Regions from separate parts of the Homo sapiens genome. Here all the other regions are linked to region 1. The links are contacts of gene promoters, found by promoter capture Hi-C in blood cells and fetal thymus (Javierre and others, 2016). All regions are on one chromosome and are shown on one strand. Each heading gives the region's core, a stretch centred on a gene start or on the middle of the fragment in contact. The rest is flanking DNA. Distances are from core to core; before and after follow the strand shown.

Region 1 (3,522 bases), core at 479-2,978:
CAGCTCCCCATAGGATCTGCAAGGAAGGTGCAACAGGATACTCCCTTGAGCCATGTGACACTCCATGACAAAGGCACCCCCAACTATGCCCCTGGGTGTCAACCTCCCTATCCTTTTCTGGTTCATGACCTCGAGATGCCTCCCAAGGCATCTTGTCTGAATTCTTGTGTTCCGAACCTTGGCTTGTTATATGTGGCGCACTTTATGCAAGTTACACAAAACTGGACTCCAGGCGTGGTGCTGCATGCCTGTAATCCCAGACACTCAGGAGGCTGAGGTGGGAGGATTACAAGCCCAGAAGTTTGAGTTCAGCCTGGGCAACATAGTGAGACCCCATCTCTTAAAAAAAAAAAAAAAGGGAAAGAAATAACTTAATTCTTTTTTTCTGGCATAGAGAGGTTCCAAAGACCAATCCTGAAGCTTGGTAAAGGACTACAGCTGTTACCCCCACATTCTATCAGGCTATTAAGACTCACTCAGCCGCAACATGGCCAGGCCCCCACACCAAGTTAGGCAAGCTACAGATACCAAGGAGTAGGAACTGCAAACACAAATACAGGGCAAACTGCAGGTACCTAATCCTGACACGTCACCTGGCTGAACTTTGGTAGCAGAAGCCCAAGGAACACAGACTTATGGCTTTGTGTATATAGACATTGTCCTGTAGTCCAAAGGATGTGACTCTGTGGCAGACGGGAACCTAGAACATTGGACATTTATTATATTACATTAACTACCTTGCTTGCTTCCAGGTTTCTGGAAGTTTTGGTAACACAGCTAAATACTAGGGCCTAGTTTTTGCTAAGAACGTGGGTAGCTCTGACATTCCTTTGTCCATTAGGCAGATCCACTGTATAAATGGAAACATCTGTATTTTAAAGATTTTCCTAGCTGATTTTATCGAAATGTTAGAGATTTTCCTGGGGCGAGGGATAGCTGCAAGTTATTACAGTCAGATTTCTAAGCACGATGATTATTTCTGGTGGCAAACCATGCGTGTGGAGGCCGATTCCTCCTATCAGCCTAACGATTAAGTCAACATGCTAAGCAGCCACACGGGGGCTACTAAGTGACTCGCACGGGGGAAGCAGGCAGGGAGACAGATGGGCAGGGGAGGGAATCTGGGGCAATGCACAACCTCCACCCAGGTAGAGAGAGGGTCTGGGGGATAGGTCTGTGTCACTCAAGTAAGAGCGACACTTCTTGGGGTCCAGTCCCGTCCTGGGCTTGCCCGGGAAAGACCCCAGGACAAATTCGGCCCCCTTCCAGAGTGTCCCCATTCTGCTCCCACAATGGGACAAGCCGGCCTCTTCTCCAGTCTGGGCCCCCTTCGGCCCTCCTCCCTCCTCCTGTCTCTTGGGCCCCCAGCCATGCTCGGCCCCCAGTTGACTTCTTCAGTACCTGCATTGCTCAGCGTCTTGCACTCTGTGCGTGCCCCATCCGCCGCTCCTCCTGTCCCGTTCCTCCTGCCTCTCTCAGCCCCACTCACTCTCCCACTGCCCCTCGTGCCCCCATCCAACCCTCCTCCTGCCCCCCAACCTCTGTCTCTCAGTCCCAAGCCAGTCAGGGAGCCCTGACAGCAGCTACCCGGACGGCAGTGCGAGCCCCTTACCCGGGCGCAGCAGGCCCCCGGCGGCCTGGTGGCCCTCGGACAGTAGGAAGGAGCCTGAGGCCCGGCGCGGGGACGTGGCCGGCAGCGCAACCCAGGCAGCTCCGGGCAGCGCGCCCTGCCCGGGCCCCGCCCAAACGCCGGAAATGACGTCACGGAGGGCGGGGCGGGCCTGCTGGCCGGGGCGAAGAGCGGCTGCGGCGGGGCCTGTGGCGAACGGAGGCGAGCCGGAAGTGGGGGGGTTGTCTGCTCTCAGGCCCCGCCTCCCCGGGGCCGGCTCGGGCCACTTCTTGCGCGCTGCCAGAAGGAGCTATTTTGAGCAGGTCTGTGGCGGAAGTGGGTGTTCCCGGGTCTCTGCTGCCCAGCTGTGCCCGCTGCCGTCTTGGGGTCCCGGGGTGCGCGGGTTGGGCTGGGTGAGCTCAGAGGCACCTTGTCGGCAGCCGAGCCTGAAGAGGCGACCTCGAAACGCCTCGTGAGACCTTTCGCGGGCACACGCCCTTCGCGTTCCTCCGCTTCCTCCCACGTTTCTTCAGCCCCTGGCGGGGCGCTGGGGTGCCCGGTAGTTAAGGGTGGGGTGGCAGCGAGCGTTTCTGTGCACCCGCAGCGTGCCACGCCCGTGCTAAGCACTTTGCCTATAGAGCCAGTGGCTTAATTCTGCAATAGCACAGTGAAGAACTTCGCCTCATTTTACAGACGTGGAAACAGGCTCATCAAGTGCTCTGTAATTGTAAAACCTGGGATAACAAAGGAGCAAAACGCAATTTAGAGGCAAGTGTGTGGGACTTGACTTTGGTTAGAAATAGGCTTTGCAGGCCAGGCGCGGTGGCTCTTGCCTGTAATCCTAGCACTTTGGGAGGCCGAGACGGGCGGATTATCTGAGCTCAGGAGTTCGAGACCAGCCTGGGCAACATGGTGAAACCCTGTGTCTACTAAAATACAAAAAATTAGCCGGGCGTGGTGGCGTGCGCCTGTAGTCCCAGCTACTCGGGAGGCTGAGGCAGGAGAATTGCTTGAACCTGGGAGGTGGAGGTTGAAGTGAGCAGAGATCGTGCCACTGCACTCCAGCCTGGGCGACAGAGCGAGACTCTGTCTCCAAAAAAAAAAAAGAAAGAAAGAAATAGGCTTTGCAAGTTAGTAGTTCTGTGACTGAATCCCAGTCTGTATAAGACCCTCAGGCATCCCCCGGTCCAAACCAAAACCTGTCTGCGAAGGATGATTTCACAGGAGCAAACCAAGACTTTATTTCCAGTTTTATAACCTGCCTTGGGGTCTTCGGCTAGGAAGCTAAGAGACACAGAAAGCTGAGATTGGGCAAAGACAGGATCTACCATCCACTCCGAGCTCTGGGAGCACCTGAAATGCGATTTGATGTCACCACCACCATCCCCAGTTCAACCACAGTTCATGTGTGGAATTTAACCTGCAAAGTTGGGTTTGCTGAGACCCAACGCCGGTTGGATCATGTGAAGATCAGATCCTTTCACTATGTATTTGCTTTAATTTTTCCAACTAGTTCGGATCTAACATGAAGTACAGTATTGAGGCTCACTCCAGAAGTGAAAATATACAATCGGCAGGCAGATTTTAGTTCTTTGCCTGCCCTTTTCAAAAATCAATGACTGGGCTGGGCGCGGTGGCTCACGCCTGTAATCCCAACATTTTGGGAGGCCAAGGCGGGCGGATCACCTGAGGTCAGGAGTTTGAGACCAGCCTGACCGATATGGTGAAACCCGTCTCTACTAAAAATATAAAAATTAGCCAGGCGTGGTGGCGTGTGCCTGTATTCCCAGCTACTCGGGAGTCTGAGACAGGAAAATTGCTTGAACTTGGGAGGGGGAGGCTTCAGTGAGCCGAGATCTCACCACTGCACTCCAGCCTGGGCGACAGAGCGAGACTCCTTCTAAAAAAAAAAA
Region 2 (2,889 bases), core at 64-2,563, 240 kb before region 1:
AGGACTTCCCCAATCCACGCAGGAATCCCCGCAGGCATCCACGCAGGAATCACCTGATGAAGGGCCAGGGTCAGGTGTGGGCCACCATCCCAAGACCTCCCTTCTCTCTAGGGCCAGCCCCTCTCCTCTGAGCACCTGCTGACCAGCCCAAAGCCCTCTCCACTCCTCAGCTTGAACTCCCCCAGGGTCTCCCTGTGGCCCACAGGTCCTTTGGAGGCTCGGGCATCTGCATGCAAATCCCAAACCACTGTCCCCTTTGCACACACTGAGCCTGCCCTTGTCCTCGTCCTGGTCTACCATGCGTGTCCTCCCTCTGCACGGGCATGGGACATGCCCTCTGCCTCCTTCCTGTCCTGGCCTGCCCAACTCCTACCTACCCTCAGCGCAGATCCTCCCAACACACACATGCAGGCAGCCTCGGGGCCTCTGCGGGTCCCTCTACCACAGCATTCCCGGGGAAAGGCCCGGCGTGGTGGCTCACGCCTGTAATCCCAGCACTTTGGCAGGCCGAGGCAGGAGGATCGCCTGAGTCCAGGAGTTCCAGACCAGCCTGGGCAACATGGCGAGACCCCGTCTCTACAAAAAATACAAAAATTAGCCGAGCCTGGTGGTGGCAGGCGACTGTGGTTCCAGCTGCTCGGGAGGCTGAGAAGTGAGGATCACCCGAGCCTGGGAGGTCGAGGCTGCAGTGAGCCGAGATCGCACCACTGCATTCCAGCCTGAGCCACAGAGCCAGATTGTCTCAAAAAAAGAAAAAAAAAAAAAAAAAAAAAAAAATTCGCTGGTAGGAAACATAGGCTGGTTGAGTACGGGAGTCATACAGATCAGGTGGATCAGGCGGCCGCACACCGCAGCTCTACGGCCCGGGAACGTTACTAAATACTCCCATGCCTCAGCTTCCCGCCTTAACGTGGTAACACGTTACTGTAGTTTCTCCACGCAGAGCTGCTGTGAGGATTAAAAGAGGCCGCGTGAGTTGAGCATCTCGTCGCCATTACCGTCATCACACGCCCCCCACCCAACCCGGCGGGCCCACCCTCTGCACCCACGGCGAAAGCACTCTTTCTAAACCACGCCCCGGATGTCCCGCCTCCAGCGGCTCGGAGGTCTTCACTTATTGGCCTCCCCAAACCAACATGGCGGCCCCCTACAAACTTCAAGCGCCGGTCTCTCCTAGCCAATCAAAAGAAAGATATTTCTGAATCCCGCCTCTTTCAGCAGCCTTGCTGGCCAATCAGACCACACCATGAAGCATCAATACAGAAAAGGGGGAACCCGCTGGCCCAATGGCAGCGTCCTACAGTGTAGCCTCCGCCTCCCGATTGACTGGCCTGCTTGGCAAGGCAAGTAGCGGCGGCGCTTCAAGGTGGGTGTTCACGTTTTGGCCGTGAAAGTCGGGCTTGGGCAGCGTGGCGTCGGGGGCGAGTGTGGTGTCCCCGTTGGCGCCGCCAGCTCTGCGCCTGGGCTTCCCCTCGGCTCACTCAGGATCCGCGGCCTCCGTGTCCTTCAGGTGCAGCGGGGAGCCGGCTCTCAGGGCGCATGCGCCGCCCGCTCTGCGCCACCGGCCTAGTTAGGGTCGGAGATCACTGGGAAGGTGGGGAAGGTGCTGGGTTGGGTCCCTGGAACTGCAGTCAGTGATCCAAAGGAGTGGGCCTGTTAGGGGGTTCACAGGTCGTGGGATGAGCTCTTATGAGCGCCGGCTAAGTGCCGGGCTCTGGGGTGCCCTTGGCATGTACGGGCTCCCCTAATTCCCAAGACCAACCGCCCCCAACCCACTTCATAGGTGAGAAGACGGAGGTCAGGTCACATCATCTGCCCAAGGTCACGCGGCAGGCTGGGGGACAGTTCCAGGAGGGCCTTGAAGCTGGGGAAAGGAATGTGGTACCGAGGACTGTTCAGGCCTTGAAGAGTTTCCAGCAGGGCAGGGCTGGGTTCCGATCCTCGGCCCACCTCCTTATCGTGTGACTTCCGACAAGTCACTTTTTTATCTTTTTTTTGAGACAAGGTCTCACTCTGTCGCCCAGGTTGGAGGGCAGTGGTGCAGTCTGGGCTCACTGCAACTTCTGCCTCCTGGGTTCAAGCGATTCTCCTACCTCAACCTCCCGAGTAGCTGGGATTATAAGTGCCCACCACCACACCTGGCTAATTTCTGTATTTTTTGGTAGGGACGGGGTTCCACCATGTTAGCCAGGCTGGTCTCAAACTCCTGACCTCAGGTGATCCACCTGCCTCAGCCTCCCAAAGTGCTGGGATTACAGGCGTGAGCCACCACACCCAGCCCTAGCGAGTCACTCAACAAACTGAGTCCCAGCGCCTTATTTGTGCCTCCCTCGTGGAGTCCTTGTAAGGATAGGATGGCAGCGCTTTCCACCCCTGGGCACGGTTCCTGGGGGAGGAGAGCTAACAAAGTTCGCTCTCAGTGCATGCTGGCGGGGGCTGGTAATGTTGTTTTTGGTTAGATTTGGGGAGGATGAAGGGAGGAGCAGAAAGGTGGGAAACAGGATCTCTGGGAGGGAGAAAGGAAGGATGGATTTAAAAGGTTTCTTAGGTGAGGCAGAACTTGGGGTCCACAGAAACTGAATTGTAGCTCAGCCAAGCTGAATCAGATGGAAAGCTGGGAGGCGCTGGGAACAGGAAAGCCATCTGTGCCTCTGACAGCAATGGGGTGCGAGTAGAGGGCAAAGTGACACATGTCAGTGGAGACTTGGGATCCTTGCGGTGCCAGTCTCAGAAGAGGATGGTTCTTGGGCACACCCCACCCTCCATCCCTTTTTATGCCACCAGATGCGCTGCCTGACCACGCCTATGCTGCTGCGGGCCCTGGCCCAGGCTGCACGTGCAGGTAGGACCAAAGAAGCCTTTGCTGGGGGTAGGGGAGTCCAGTCTCCT
Region 3 (3,522 bases), core at 472-2,971, 180 kb after region 1:
GAACTGGGTAAATTTCTAGACACATACAACCTATCAAGATTGAACCATGAAGAAATCCAAAACCTGAACAGGCCGGGCACGGTGGCTTACGCCTGTAATCCCAGCACTTTGGAAGGCCTGAGATCAGGAGTTCGAGACCAGCCTGGCCAACATGGTGAAACCCCATCTCTACTGAAAAAATATAAAAATTAGCCGGGCGTGGTGGCGGGTGCCTCTAATGTCAGCCACTCGGGAGGCTGAGGCAGGAAAATCACTTGAACCTGGGAGGCATAGGTTGCAGCGAGCCGAGGTTGCACCACTGCACTCCAGCCTTGGCGACAGAGCCAGACTCCATCTCAAAAAAATTAAAATAACAAAAACCTGAACAGACCAATAACAAGTAATGCGATGAAAACTGTAATAAAATGTTTCCCAACAAAGAAAGCCCAGGAACAAATGGCTTCACTGCTGAATTTTACCAAACATTTTTTTTTTTTTGAGACGGAGTCTCGCTCTGTCGCCCAGGCTGGAGTGCAGTGGCGCAATCTCAGTTCACTGCAAGCTCCTCCTCCCGGGTTCATGTCATTCTCCTGCCTCAGCCTCCTGAGTAGCTGGGACTACAGGTGCCCACCACCACGCCCGGCTAATTTCTTGTATTTTTAGTAGAGACGGGGTTTCACTGTGTTAGCCAGGATGGTCTCGATCTCTTGACCTCATGATCAGTCCACCTCAGCCTCCCAAAGTGCTGGGATTACAGGCATGAGCCACTGCGCCTGACCAAGATCCTGTCATTTATAACAAAGCAACAACGTGGATGGAACTGGAGGTCATTATGTTAAGTGAAACAAGCGAGGCACAGAAAGAGAAACTTCACGTGTTCTCACTTATTTGTGGGAGCTAAACTTTTTTTTTTTCGGGATGGAATCTTACTCTGTCACCCAGACTGGAGTGCAGTGGCGCAATCTTGGCTCACTGCAACCTCTGCCTCCCAGTTTCAAGCGATTCTCCTGCCTCAGCCTCCCAAGTAGCTGGGACTACAAGCGCCCACCACCACGCCCAGCTAATTTTTGTGTTTTTAGTAGAGATGGGGTTCCACCATGTTGGCCAGGCTGGTCTCAAACTCCTGACCTCGTGATCCACCTGCCTCAGCCTCCTGAAGTGCTGGGATTACAGGCGTGAGCCACCATGCCCGGCCGGGGAGCTAAAAATTAATACAATTGAACTCATAGAGATAGAGAGTAGAAGGATGGTTACCAGAGGCTGAGAAGGGTAGTGGGTTTGGGGGGTGAGGTGGAGGAGAGATGGTTAACAGGTACAGAAATACAGTTAGATAGAATGAAGAAGATCCGTATTTGGTAGCACAGCAGGGTGACTGGAGTCAACAATAATTTATTGTACATTTAAGAATAAATAGGCTGGGGGCGGTGGCTCATGCCTGTAATCCCAGCACTTTGGGAGGCCGAGACGGGCGGATTATGAGGTCAGGAGATCGAGACCATCCTGGCTAACACGGTGAAACCCTGTCTCTACCAAAAATACAAAAAAAAAAATTAGCCGGGCACGGTGGCAGGCGCCTGTAGTCCCAGCTACTCGCGAGGCTGAGACAGGAGAATGGCATGAACCCAGGAGGCAGAGCTAGGAGGCAGAGCTTGCAGTGAACTGAGATCATGCCACTGCACTCCAGCCTGGGCGACTGAGGGAGACTCCGTCTCAACAAAAAAAAAAAAAAAGAATAAGTAGGAAAGTATAATTAGATTTTTTTTTGTAACACAAAGGATAAATGCTTGATGTGATGGTTACATCATTTACCCTGATGTGATTATTATACGTTATATGCCTGTATCAAAACATCATGGCTGGGCACGGTGGCTCAGGCCTGTAATCCCAGCACTTTCGGAGGCTGAGGCGGGCGGATCACGAGGTCAGGAGATCGAGACCATCCTGTCCCACATGGTGAAAGCCCGTCTCTACTAAAAATACAAAAATTAGCTGGGTGTGGTGGCGCGTGCCTGCAATCCCAGCTACTCGGGAGGCTGAGGCAGGAGAATCGCTTGAACCGGGAGGCGGAGATTGCAGTACGCCGAGATCACGCCACTGCACTCCAGCCTGAGGACAGAGTGAAACTCTGTCTCAAAAAAAAAAAAAAAAAAGTTTCATGTACCCCTAGGCTGGGCGGGCACGGTGGCTCACGCCTGTAATCCCAGCACTTTGGGAGGCTGAGGCGGGCGGATCGCTTGAGGCCAGGGATTCAAGACCAGCCTGGGCAACGTGGCGAAACCCTGTCTCTACTAAAAAAACAAAATAATTAGCCAGGCATGGTGCGTGCGCCTGTAATCCGGCTACTCAGGAAGACTGAGGCAGGAGAATGGCGTGAACCCGGGAGGCGGAGCTTGCAGTGAGCCGAGATCATGCCACCACCCTCCAGCCTGGGCAACAGAGCGAGACTGCGTCTCAAAATAAATAAATAAATAAATAAATAAATAAATAAATAAATAAATAAAATAAAACAAACAACACACACACACACACACACACACACACACACACCCTAACACAAAGACCTGGAAGAAGTGCCTGGAGAGAGTCTCCTGGCCTCCCAACAGGACCCCAAAAATTGAACCCTTGATCAATGGGGCTGGATGTGCAGAGGTGGTGACAGCCCAGGGAGGCTGGGTCTCCTGAACCCGCCTTTCCCGCCCACGCAGTCAGCTGGGGAGAGTGAGGGGCTCATCCGCCGGCTGCCTACCCTCTGCCAAGTACATCCTTCAGTAAGTGCCTGAAGCGGGCACAGCCCTGCCCTTATGCCACTTATGTGCTGGGAGACCCAGAGATTAGTCAGGTGTGGCTCCTCCCCTGCATTTGCTCCCAATCCAGGAGACAGCGGGGTTCCAAAGCCATAAGGAAGCATTGTTCTAAGATACCCTAGAGCCCAGAGGGCCGTCATATTCACACAGGAAGCCAGAGGGGGCTTCTTGGAGGAGGCAGTGTCTGAGCTGTGTCTTAAAGGAGGAGGTGAAGTTAACCTGGCTTATTTAAACTTCACAACAGTCCAGCCAGGTAGGGGGTGTTCCCAGAATCTACTTGAGGGAACTGAGGTTTGGGTAAAAAGAAGCAAAGCCAACATTTTTTTTTGCATCCGTTTAATCTTTTGTTTATCCAATACACGTTACTAACTGGCTACCAGGTGCTACTCAATGTGGCCAAAAAGGCATGTACCTTCTCTCCAAACCCTCTCACCTCTGCAGTGACAGCCACTACTCCCCAAGTCTCTGTCACCCCTCACTGAGCCCTGAGGGGTCTCTTGTATAATGGGCTCCCTCCCCACCAACCAGAGCAGAGATGGGTCCTTTGCTCAGCTCAGCCTTCCTCCAACCCCTCATTCCAGAATGGGTGTGGGAGCTTCCTGCCTGCCCTGGGGCACTGAGGCAGCATCGCCCGGGCAGTTGAAGAAAGTCCATGTTGCCAGTTTGGCTATTTCCACTGCCGGGGAGGCCACTGTGGGAGGTCTTGTTCCCGAGAAATGTGGGTGGTTAGGACGGTGGC
Region 4 (3,522 bases), core at 609-3,108, 150 kb before region 1:
CGTGATCTCGGCTCACTGCAACCGCCGCCTCCCAGGTTCAAGCGATTCTCCTGCCTCAGCCTCCCAAGTAGCTGGGACTACAGGTGTGCGCCACCATGCCCAGCTAATTTTTGTATTTTTAGTAGATATGGGGTTTCACCATGTTGGCCAGGCTGGTCTCGATCTCCCGACCTCGTGACCCGCCCACCTTGGCCTCCCAAAGTGCTGGGATTACAGGCGTGAGCCACTGCGCCCGGCCCGGGAACACATCTTTAAAGGTCTCAATAGAAGGATGCACACACTACGTTGAATGGTTATGTCTTCGGAGCAGAGTGGTGAAAGAAGGTCAGACTTCTGTTAAGTCTGAATACCTACACGCGTACTTCTGTAATTCAAATTTAAGATTAAATATTTTCAAGTTTAAAAAAAGGAAAAAATGGCCGAGCGCGGTGGCTCATGCCTGTAATCCCAACATTTTGGGAGGTCGAAGCGGGTGGATCACCTGAGGTCGGGAGTTCAAGATCAGCCTAACGAACATGGAGAAACCTTGTCTCTACTAAAAATACAAAATTAGCCGGGCGTGGTGGCGTGTGTCTGTAATCCCAGCTACTCGGGAGGCTGAGGCAAGGAGAATCGCTTGAACACGGGAGGCCGTGGTTGCAGTGAGCCGAGGTCGCGCCACTGCACTCCAGCCTGGGGACCAAGAGCGAAACTCCGTCTCAAAAAAAAAAAAAAAAGGAAAAAACATTTCTACCTTACTCTTATTTTAGGAGCCACGCCTCCCACCTTTGTCTAGTAACACAGCTATAGTGATGTCTCTTAGGGGATGAGAAAATGCTACTCCTCCACTAACAATGACTCTTGGAGAGGGAACAAGACATCAAATCGCGAACTCGAAAAACTAACAGAAAAAAGTTAAAAAGTGGTTTGTGTTTTTAAAGCCAGCCACAACACCTTCATTCAAGGCCCTAAACCGCAGAGACTTTCTAGACCTATCTTAAGCGTCAGTACCACACGCACTTCGTGATGGAACGGTATTGTTCTCCTAGAACAGACCCGTTTTCTCATGAAACCGACGTTTTTACAAAAGCCTGTTTGTGGACGGCCTGCGGCGGCCGCGAACCCGCTTCCCTTGGATTACCCAGGGCTGGGAGAAGGAGGGCTTTCGCCGGCTGCGGTCCCCGGTCCCCGGCCTCCGCCCCGGCCCCGGCTCCCCCGGCCCCCGACCCCCCCGGCCCACGCCCCCTGCCCGGACCCCGCCCCGGCCCCGCCCCGCGTCACCTGACTGTCCCGCGGCCCCCAGACCCGGCGCCACCGACCTGATGACACTGATGTGGAACTCGTCCTCGCGGAGGCCCCGCCAGGCGCCGGGCAGGAACTCCTTGCACCACAGATAGGCCCTGCGCCGCGTCCGGGGCTCCGGCTGCTCGTCTGCGGGCGGCTGCGGCGGCGGGGGCTGGGGCAGCGGCAGCGGCAGCGGCAGCGGCGGCGGAGGGGGCAGCGCGAGCGGCGGCTGTTGGCCGCCCAGCTGCTTGGACTCGAGGTCGCTGGCGGCGTCGCGCTGCTGCCCCACGCCGGGCGCCGGGGCCGCGCTGCCGCTACCGCAGCTCAGCAGCAGCCCGAGCGGCGAGGGCTCCGCCTCGCCCCCGGTGCAGAATTTGGTTTTCATGCCCGACAGGCGGCCGAGGAGGCGCGGGCGGCCGCAGCGCGAGAGGACTAGGCTCAGAGTCCGGCCGGGCGCCCCCTCGCCGCTCTCTCACTGGCAGGCCGGCGGGGCAGGGGGCCGCGGCGGTTGGGCGCGCGGGGCGGCGGCGGCGGCTGCGGCGACTGCGGCGACTGTGGAGCGGGGATGTGCTGCTGGCCGCTGCACTCGCTCCTCTGCCGCCGCCGCACGAGGAGCGCCGGCCGCGTCACAGCCCGCCCTCGCGCTCGCCACTGATTGGCCGCCGTCCGCCGGCCCGGCGCATCATAACCGCCGCCGCCCTCGCCACACCGCCTCCCCATTGGCTGCGGCGCCGCCCCCAACCCAGAGCGCTGCGGCCTCCGTGAGCGGGGCCTGGGCGAAGGGGGCGGGGCGTCGAGGGGGCGCCCCGGCGGTCGCAGGGAAGGGGGAGAGGGGAGCGAGGCGCGGGGGGCGCCGGGAGAGCGCCTCCGCGGTGGGACGGAGCCGGACTGGGCCGAGCGAGGGAGGCTCCTGAGCCTCGGAGGACCCCGGGGTTGGCTTTGGGAGCTGAAAGTTTCCTTGGACCCCTCGGAAGCCCCGTGACATCAGAGGCCGGGCCTGGCAGGGGCAGGCAGGAAACGTGTCTGGAGGCTACTGCCCTCTCCGCGTGACCTTGGGCGAGCAGCCTCCTCCTGGGGCTCAGTGGGTGTGATTTTGTAACATTTCCCAGCGCTGCCACAGGCGCGTCTCGCCCTGTCCAACGCGGAGCCCGAAGAATTACTAAGAAACCGAGGTCTGAAGGAGGGAAGAGGTGACGGGCTCGAGGCCACACGGTGGGCCAGGCTGGGCCCGGCTGCACGCCGGCTACCGGGGCCCAGCCCTCTGCACGCCTCCCGCAGCCTCAGTTTCCCTGTCCGTGGTACTGAGGATGCTCGGGCCTAGAAGTTCAGGGCTGGAGGCCCAGGGACCGTCGAGGGAGGGGCATCATCCCCGCCATGGGGCCGCCGCAACTGCCCAGAGCACAGGCCAAAGGTGCGTGCCACGGGGCTACTGGCGTTGTGGACGCTGCCCCTGCCTCCCCATCCCCCGCAGGAAACAGCCTTGTGACCGTGACTAACGCACCTTTGCCGGGGTAGAGGGGCAAGGGCCCCTGCTACCGTTTGCCACACACTGCCCCATGTCCCTCACTGCTCCCGTCCTTCCTAGAAGTGAGGTGCTGATACATATAAAAATTATGGATCCCATTTTATGGGACATGAGCTGAAACAGGAGGTTTCCTGGGCTGCCAGGGGCTTAGGAAATCCAGTGCCTGATACACAGGAAATGCTTCTATGTGGGGAGTTCACAGTCTTCCAGAAGCAAAAATGTTTTTTGGTTTTTTTTTTGAGACGGAGTCTTGCTCAGTCGCCCAGGCTGGAGTGCAGTGGCACGATCTCGGCTCACTGCAACCTCCGCCTCCCGGGTTCACGCCATTCTGCTGCCTCAGCCTCCCGAGTAGCTAGGACTACAGACGCCCGCCACGACGCCTGGCTAATTTTTTTTTTTTTTTTTTTTTTTTTTTTGTATTTTTAGTAGAGACGGGGTTTCATCGTGTTAGCCAGGATGGTCTCGATCTCCTGACCTCGTGATCCGCCCGCCTCGGCCTCCCAAAGTGCTGGGATTACAGGAGTGAGCCACCGCGCCCGGCCGCAAAAATCTTTTAGAGTGTGTACTTGGCTGAACTTGCTCCACGCAAAATGGTCTTATTTAAGGATAAAAATGAAAGGGGACTTTTGTAAGGCTGCTGTGGCGACAGGCCTGGAAGTTGACCTGCAGGGAGGTAGGAGAGACCAAGGCCCCTGGGACGGAGGCCGGCCACTGGATGTTTGAAAGGCTGAGAA

Evidence for each region. The method cuts DNA at HindIII sites, captures the fragments that hold promoters and counts their contacts. A CHiCAGO score of 5 or more calls a contact.
Region 2: the fragment with the promoter of NDUFS8 here is called in contact with the fragment with the promoter of C11orf24 in region 1 in 8 of 17 cell types (neutrophils, total B cells, endothelial precursors and 5 more); the score reaches 12.5 in neutrophils.
Region 3: a fragment that was not itself captured here is called in contact with the fragment with the promoter of C11orf24 in region 1 in 2 of 17 cell types (total B cells and endothelial precursors); the score reaches 5.2 in total B cells.
Region 4: the fragment with the promoter of CHKA here is called in contact with the fragment with the promoter of C11orf24 in region 1 in 4 of 17 cell types (neutrophils, activated CD4 T cells, monocytes and 1 more); the score reaches 11.6 in neutrophils.

The regions. Positions count from the first base shown.
Region 1 is chr11:68,270,245-68,273,766 of GRCh38, forward strand. It overlaps C11orf24 (chromosome 11 open reading frame 24), which reads right to left and starts at 1,729. Exons shown (of 4, transcript NM_022338.4): 1 at 1,613-1,729. LOC105369363 (a long non-coding RNA gene) reads left to right here and starts at 1,858. Exons shown (of 3, transcript XR_950248.3): 1 at 1,858-1,932. RefSeq lists a silencer at 1,527-1,926 and an enhancer at 1,838-2,692. The HindIII fragment of the contact is 7,211 bases long and covers 419-3,522 here.
Region 2 is chr11:68,029,368-68,032,256 of GRCh38, forward strand. NDUFS8 (NADH:ubiquinone oxidoreductase core subunit S8) reads left to right here and starts at 1,314. Exons shown (of 7, transcript NM_002496.4): 1 at 1,314-1,366; 2 at 2,785-2,842. The coding sequence starts at 2,785. It overlaps GLTC1 (glycolysis associated regulator of LDHA post-transcriptional modification 1), which reads right to left and starts at 1,067. Exons shown (of 4, transcript NR_197583.1): 1 at 926-1,067; 2 at 1-53. RefSeq lists enhancers at 1,055-1,349, 1,341-1,520. The HindIII fragment of the contact is 7,666 bases long and covers 1-2,889 here.
Region 3 is chr11:68,452,148-68,455,669 of GRCh38, forward strand. No RefSeq gene overlaps it. Among named protein-coding and RNA genes, the nearest start is that of PPP6R3, 6.8 kb to the right of the region's middle. The HindIII fragment of the contact is 6,956 bases long and covers 1-3,522 here.
Region 4 is chr11:68,119,530-68,123,051 of GRCh38, forward strand. It overlaps CHKA (choline kinase alpha), which reads right to left and starts at 1,859. Exons shown (of 12, transcript NM_001277.3): 1 at 1,299-1,859. The coding sequence starts at 1,648. CHKA-DT (CHKA divergent transcript) reads left to right here and starts at 2,359. Exons shown (of 4, transcript NR_183630.1): 1 at 2,359-2,674. RefSeq lists enhancers at 1-158, 584-713, 854-983, 1,832-2,597, 2,598-3,364 and silencers at 1,134-1,263, 1,834-2,263, 2,614-2,713. The HindIII fragment of the contact is 18,960 bases long and covers 1-3,522 here.